2 separate regions of the Homo sapiens genome follow, and region 2 is linked to region 1. The links are contacts of gene promoters, found by promoter capture Hi-C in human tissues and cell types (Jung and others, 2019). All regions are on one chromosome and are shown on one strand. Each heading gives the region's core, a stretch centred on a gene start or on the middle of the fragment in contact. The rest is flanking DNA. Distances are from core to core; before and after follow the strand shown.

Region 1 (3,894 bases), core at 1,086-3,585:
CCGTCCTCTGCACCATAGGACCCTTAGCAGCAGTGTCCCTGATTTCTACACATTAAAGCCCAAAAGCATCCCCTCCCCCCTCCAGTTGCAACAACTAGAAATGTCTTCAAACATTGTCAAATGGACCCTGGCGGCAAAATCACCCTCAGTGGAGAACCACTGGCTCCAGCCCAGGGAGTGGAGAGTGTGCGCTACCTTGCCAAGCACCTTGGAAAGTGTGCTGATTTGAATCATTCAATGTTCAAATGATTAACCATCCCCATTAAAGAGAGTCCTAACAGTGTGTCCTGTGCCTTGTGATTTTCCACTGGACAGGACTGCAGGGGGCAGGGACTGACCGGTCATGTGTGCAGAAGCTGCTGCTGTAGCGAGTGTCTTTGGCATACTTGATCACCAGGCACTTGTACTGAGCAATCTGGAAGCGACGGACGCGTCTCATCAACTCTGTGCTGCAAGAGGAGAGAGGGTCAGGTGAGGTCCACGGCGGGAGGAGTGGGAGAAGGAGACCCCTCCCCAACAAGCCTGGCTCCTCATTGTCCCTAGTGGTATGCAGACTGAGCCCACCACAGCCAGAAAAGAGCAGGGCAGAGCAGGCAGGGTATAATATCCCTACAAAGAGGGTTGGAAGTCAGAATTCTCTATGGGGAAGAGGTCCAGGAATGGTACTCAGGTGGTCCCAGGAAGTGTGGGAGGAGTAACCTTCTCCAAGATGTAGTGGGGAAGGCAGAAGCAAAGGCTACATGTAGAGGGAACCTGCGACTGCATTCCAAAGTAACCTCATCCCAGAGTTGTTCCCAGAGTTCAGAGTTTTTCTTTCTTTCTTTTTGGGGTGGAGTCTCGCTCTGTTGCCTAGGTTAGAGTGCAGTGGAGCGATCTCAGCTCACTGCAACCCCTGCCTTCCGGGTTCAAGAGATTCTCCTGCCTCAACCTCCCGAGTAGCTGGGATTACAGGAGGCTGCCACCATGCCCAGATAATTTTTGGTTTTTTTTTTCAGTAGAGATGGGGTTTTACCACGTTGACCAGGGTGGTCTCAAACTCCTAACCTCAAGTGATCAACGCACCTCAGCCTTCCAAAGCGCTGGGATTAAAGGCGTGGGCCACCACACCTGGCATACAGCTTTTCTAAATTAATTTCAGAAAGTCTTTGTGTGCAGCGTCAAAAGCACTTGCTTCTGGGTCCAAGAAGTCCAACTCTGAGCCACATCTTCCTGAGCAAGGGGTTTGAGCTGAAGTGATCCCCAGGGCCATAAAAGAATGTTGGGGCAGGGCATGGTGGCTAACATCTGTAATCCCAGCACTTTGGGATGCTGAAGTAGGAGGATTGCTTGAGACCAGGAGTTCAAGACCAGCTTGGGCAACATAGCAAGACCCCAGCTCTATAAAAATAAAATAAAATTAGCTGGGTGGAGGCGGGGGGGTGCACGCCTGTAGTCCCAGCTACTTGGGAGGCTGAGGTGAGAGAATTGCTTGAGCCCAGGAGTTTGAGACCAGCCTGGGCAACATAGCAAGATCCTACCTCTAGAAGAACAAAAACAAAACAAAAAGAATGGTGCGTGGGTAGTTTACTCAAGAAACTCACTAGCCCCACCCGGGTCAGGGAATGGTTCTATCACCTCAGGAGAGCAGAGGCTCCACGGCTTCAGACTCCTTGGTTTAGAAAGCGACTACGTTTCCTTGGCCTTAGAAGGAAACAGCCACATTGAATAGGGGTGTACAAAAAGGCCTGGCCTACAGGGGACACAACTGGTTGCCACCTTCTCAGAGGACTTGGTGGGGAAGACAGCTAAGCTGTAAGCAGCTGTCACCAGCTCCAGGAGGGAGTGGCGTCCACACAGGACGAGGGGCTTGGCCTGGGCAGAAGAGGGCAGAGACTTCCTCCTGGACTGAATTCAAGGGAGGAGCACCCCAGGCGGGAGCTGTAGGAGGCTGTGCTGGTCCTTCTAGGGGAAGGGAAGGGGAGGGAAGGGAAGGGGAGGGGAGGGGAGGGGAGGGAAGGGGAGGGGAGGGACGGGACAAGGGGTCCCCGGAGAAGAGGAAGGAGCTCCACCCCAGCCCCGCGAAGCCATTACCTTTTTCCTGAGAACATCGGCCCGAGAATCACCTAGGAGAGAAGGTGAGGTCATTTGAGGGCCCGCCCTGCGCGGATGCCTGGACACAGGCTATCACCACGACCACCTCATCCCCAGCCACGCGCAGGGCTGGCCCCCGCACCTGGATCTGCCCCCGGGTCTTGCTGGGGGAGCCAGGCAGCACAGTGGGCAGGTTAATGCAGCTCATTGCGCCTCCGGGAAGTTCACGAACCCGAGTACTCTCCAAGGCCGTCCCGCAGTAAGCCCCTGGTTCCCGCGCCGACCGCTTTAAACCACGGCGTGCTGGCCAATCACGAGCCGGCCCCGCCGCCATGGGGCCAATCAGCGCCCGGCCGCTGACCTGGCGGGAGATTTGGCCGCAGCCCGCCCCCTCGTGGGAGGAATCCGGGACGTGCGCCCAGGGACTGGGAGGGCCTGGAAATCAGGGCGATGGACGTGGCTGATCGGGGTGGGGCCTGGTCTGAGCCCCGCCTCGGTCCGCCCACCAAGTTTAAAGGGGCGGAGCGAGGCGGGGCTCTGGCCATATAAACAGAGGGACGCACGCCCATGCGGCTGTAGACGCCATGATGGATGTGTCTGGTGTGGGTTTCCCAAGCAAGGTTCCTTGGAAGAAGATGTCTGCAGAGGTAGGTGGATTGCAGGGAGGGACTAAGGGGCTGGGGCGGAGTTAGCTCATTTATTAGATTGGAATTCCAAGAAGGAAGCTTAGAAGCCGTCTAGAGCACTCCTGTGGGCATGCAGAGCGCCTAGTGCGTGCCAGGTCCCCAGTGCTTGAGCACCATGGTGTATTTTACCTTCTCCTAAGGATTTTTGTTAACCTGGTTTTCAGGATAAAGAAAATTGAAGTCCTGACTATGCTAATAATATCCGTAGACCCTGCCAGGCGTGGCGGCTCACACCTGTAATCCTAGCACTTTTGGCGGATCACGAGGTCAGGAGTTCGAGACCAGCCTGGCCAACATGGTGAAACCCCGTTTCTACTAAAAATACAAAAATTAGCCGGGCGTGGTGATGTACCTCTGTAATCCCAGCTACTGGGGAGGCTGAGACAGGAGAATCGCTTGAACCCAGGAGGTGGAGGTTGCAGTGAGCCGAGATCATGCCATTTGTACTCCAGCCTGGAAGGCTGGGCGATAGACCAAGACTTAGTCTCAAAAAAAAAAAAAAAAAAAAAAAAAAAAATCCATAGACCCGCAGGAGGTTAGGGGACAAAGTTCTGGACCTTGATCTGAGGTTACACAATGTTTTTGGGTCTGTGCTTATGTGGCACAGGCTGAAGGATTCAGAACAGCTGGTATTTACATTGGGGTTGTGAAGGTTAGAAACATACAGGCCGGGTGCGGTGGCTCAAAAAAAAAAAGAAAGAAAGAAAAGAAACCCATTGTATAATCATGATCATAAATAATAGCAACAAAGATGGTGGTAGTGATCACAGAGTGTGCCAGGTGTGGCTGTAAGGATCCTACAGGTAATAACCTTTCCAGGTACAGATTGGACAGATCCAAGGACCTCTGACAAAGAGCTCCTTCACTGGGAGGAAGAAGCAACCCACACTGACTGGCTTGCTTTATTTTACTCGCATGCTTTATCTCTTTTAACCTTGTGATTTGGATACATGCCTTCTTTTTTTGAGACACAGTCTCGCTCAGTCACCCAGGCTGGAGTGCAGTGGCATGATCTCGGCTCACTGCAACCTCTACCTCCCGGGTTCAAGTGATTCTCCTGCCTCAGCCTCCCGAGTGGCTGGGATTACAGGCACACTGTAGCTGGTACTACATGCCTGGCTAATTTTTTTTTTTTTTC
Region 2 (3,532 bases), core at 659-3,158, 380 kb before region 1:
GTGATGGCGATGGTGATGGTGATAGTGGTGATGGTGATGATGGTGATGATGGTGATGATGGTGGTGATGGTAATGGTGATGATAATGGTGGTGATGGTGATGGAGGTGATGCTGGTGATGGTGATGGTAGTGGTGGTGATGGTGATAGTGGTGATGATGGTGATGGTGATGATGATGGTGATGGTGATGATGATGGTGATAGTGATGGTGGTGGTGATCATGGTGATGGTGATGGTGATGGTGGTGATGATGGTGATGGTGGCGATGATGGTGGTGGTAACGGGGTGATGGTGAAGATAACAAGTGATTGAAATGGGCAAGACTCCCAGGAGGCTGTGGGGCTCATTTAGGGGCCTAGGGAGTCCACAGGAAGAAATCCACATTCTCTAGCCTTTCTAAGTGAAGCAAACTTGCTGTGATCACACTAGAACAGCACATACAATGCCCAGGTCTCCAGGACCATGCCAGCTGCCCACCCGGAAAAGCTATTTTCCTTTGCTACCCATAGAAAACCTTTGGGTGCCTCCACTCCTGGGGCACCGGCAACCCCACCGTCAGCCCTTCATTTCTCTTGCCTTTCCTGGATCAAGGAGCACTGCCAGGCTGCCTCTATCCCTGAGAGTTAGATCCAAATAACTGCCTTTGTTATGTTAATTTTGCAAGTGTCTCCACTCCCCCCCCCCAATTATTTGTCATGCAGCAATTCCTATGTGTTGCTAAAAATACAAACACATGACTCACACAGCTTCTGGCATGGGTAAAGGAAAGAGAACATGCATGGCCTTTCTGCTCTTCGGAGCCCAGCCAGGACACCAATCCAGGCTGAGGGGCTGAGAATAAGCTTGTCTCCAGTTGCAGAAGGACAGAAAACAAAAGGCCCAGATGAGACAGAAGGCTCCAGGCTGGTCAGCTGCATCTCTGGGGCATGACACCACAGTTATGAAATCCTTTGCATCACTTGCTCTGCTATTTGGGGCATTACCTTGTGAAAGGTTCAGATCTCAGTTCTTGTTTAGGGTCTTCTGTATTCCACACCCACATGCTCATACCAGCCTCCATGTGCCCAGATGTGCCTGCTACTCTTGGGCCCTCCACAACCTTGCACCAGCAAGGGGCGGGATAAATCTTCAGGGCACCACCCTCATTCAGAAAAGGAAGACGGCTCCATTCTCACCCCTTCCCTGTGATTTCCCCCAGCAGTCCACGTGTCCCTACCCTGGGGATGCTTGTGCAGGTTGGACTTCATTTGCTTCAAGGACAGACCCTGGGGCCAAGAAGCAGCATCTCATGCCAGTGAAGAGATCAAACTCTAGAACTGGCAAATCCGGCTCAGGCAACCTCTGCTTTTTTATCATCCAAATGGGAGCATTAACAGACACCCTTTGAGGGTGATGTGAGGATTAAGGAAGAGACAACCTGCAAAACCATCAGCCCAATGCCTGACCCAGGGAAAGGTTCAATCAGTGTCATCACTGAGGAGCACATATTGTTTTTATTATCATATTCGTGTTCCCAAATCCAGAGGTCGTCTGGCTAGGCAGAGCCATACTTTGCTCTCCCAAATTCGGGGCTCACTTCACCCCATGCTCACCTTACATTGGGGCCTTCTGCCCCTGCTTCCTGGGCACTTCAGCCTCTGAGTCAAGAGGGTGGTTGGCTGAAAAGCAAACACTGTAAGTCCCTGCCCCTGAGACGCAGCAGCTGAAGAAAGCAAGCTTTCAAGAGCATTTGCTTGGCAGCCAAAGCCCTCTGATGAATCAGGGACCTTTTCTGATGACTTACTTTATTCTAGGTGACCTGCTGGGCCATATCCCACTTCCCTCCAGGGTGCTGAGCCGGCAGGAACGAGCATGCGGAGGAGGCAAAAGGGGATGGAGATGGATTTGTGCTTAGAAATAAGATGTGGAGGAGTCCGCCTCAGGTCCCCAGGAGAATCTGTATTGCCTTGGCTGGAGCTGAGGGACTGGACATCCGGTCCCATGCACGAAGACCATCTGCCAGGGCCACCACCTCCTTCCTCCTGAGATGTCCTCCTCCCCAAATGCTCAGCCTCCCTGCAAATCATTCTACTTCTCTGTGGTCAGTGTACAGAGAGGGATTTGGAAATGGGTTGGGGCTGGGGTAGAGCCACATAGAATACAGTGAGAATGATGCCCCAGGGCACTGTGGGGTCTCTGGGGTGCTTTTCATCCATTCGGCAAAATACGTCAAGCAACTACTGTCTAAGGTGTGGCATTCAGTGTCACAGTGAATAAGGAAAGGTTGTCCTGGGGGTCAGGAAGGGAAATGAGACCACACACAAGCAATCCCATCTCTAACCTGAGCACTGGCAGAAAGTAGCAGGGACTTCCTTCTAGGAAGGAAGTCACCATGTCCCAAGAAAGCTCAGCGGCCAAGCTTGCTGGGCCCTCTGTGGGAAGATGGCAAAAGCAGAAATTGACCTCGTCATCAATGAGTATGGCCCAGGGAGACAGATGGCAAGCTGAGCTCCTCACCTGGCTGATGTCTATTTCACTGAAGTCTGAGCTAGTCCAGCCGTTGGAGTCTGTGTGTCACTAGCATATTTGTAGGTCATAGAGTACTTGTTGGCTGATCAGGGCCCAGAGAGCAGCCACTGGGGTATCAGCCAGAACGTGGAGGTTGGGTTCAGGGCCAACACCAATGGGGTTGGGCTCTAGGGTGGGAGGTGCCTATGGACTGTACCCTGGAGAACCCAAAGACCATAGCCACCTTCCAGGCCTTCTTTACCCCAAAGGCCTGTGATTTCCAAAGCTAGGTCATAAGCACATTGCAGCCTTCACTTGCTCTCTCTTGCATCCCTTCCTCTAGGGAAAGAGCCGCCATATTGTGACGATACTCAAGAGCCCCATGGAAAATTCCACATGAAGAGGAACTGAGGCCTCCAGCCAACAGCCAGCAACTACTTGCTCACCACATGAATGAGCCATCTTGGAAGCAGACTCTCCCACCCCAGTTAAGCCTTCAAATGACTCTAGCCCTGCCAACATCTTGACAAAAGGCTCAGGAGAGATGCCAACCTAGAACCACCCAGCTAAGCTGCTCCTGAATTTCCTGAATCACAGAAACTATGGGCAATAACAAATAGTTATTATTATTTGAATCCCTTAAGTTTTGAGGAAATTTGTGATGCAGCCATAGATAATGAATAAAAGGAGTTTCCGTTCAGGTAGACATTCCTTGAGCTTTGATCTTTACTTGACCCTAGGAAGCAGGTGTTTCACCGAGCCTCCCACCTTATAGTCCTTTTCCCTGTACCTGCCTTGTCTTTTCCATCTAGTTCTTCTTGTCTATGCCACTTTACTTGTGATTTTCTCTATTTGGGGCCATCTAGGGATGTTTTTTAGAGCAAGATGGTCATGTTTAATTTTTTAAGCCAAAAACAGCTGTAATCGCCTTTTAATTATACATACAGGATAGAGACTGTGATATGGTTAGGCTGTGTCCCCACCCAAATCCCATCTTGAATTGTAATAATCCCCATGTGTCAAGGCAGGGCCAGGAGAAGATAATT

Evidence for each region. Contacts are between HindIII fragments. The study calls those that stand out against the background at their distance.
Region 2: a fragment that was not itself captured here is called in contact with the fragment with the promoter of TK1 in region 1 in 2 of the 25 tissues and cell types used here (aorta and stomach).

What each region holds. Positions count from the first base shown.
Region 1 is chr17:78,184,717-78,188,610 of GRCh38, forward strand. TK1 (thymidine kinase 1) reads right to left here and starts at 2,336. Exons shown (of 7, transcript NM_003258.5): 1 at 2,213-2,336; 2 at 2,071-2,102; 3 at 339-449. The coding sequence starts at 2,278. It overlaps AFMID (arylformamidase), which reads left to right and starts at 2,646. Exons shown (of 11, transcript NM_001010982.5): 1 at 2,646-2,717. The coding sequence starts at 2,655. RefSeq lists an enhancer at 1-450 and a silencer at 2,489-2,628. The HindIII fragment of the contact is 12,138 bases long and covers 1-3,894 here.
Region 2 is chr17:77,809,983-77,813,514 of GRCh38, forward strand. All of the region lies in intron 1 of LOC105371908 (a long non-coding RNA gene), which reads right to left. Among named protein-coding and RNA genes, the nearest start is that of LINC01973, 72 kb to the right of the region's middle. RefSeq lists an enhancer at 444-1,132. The HindIII fragment of the contact is 4,695 bases long and covers 1-3,532 here.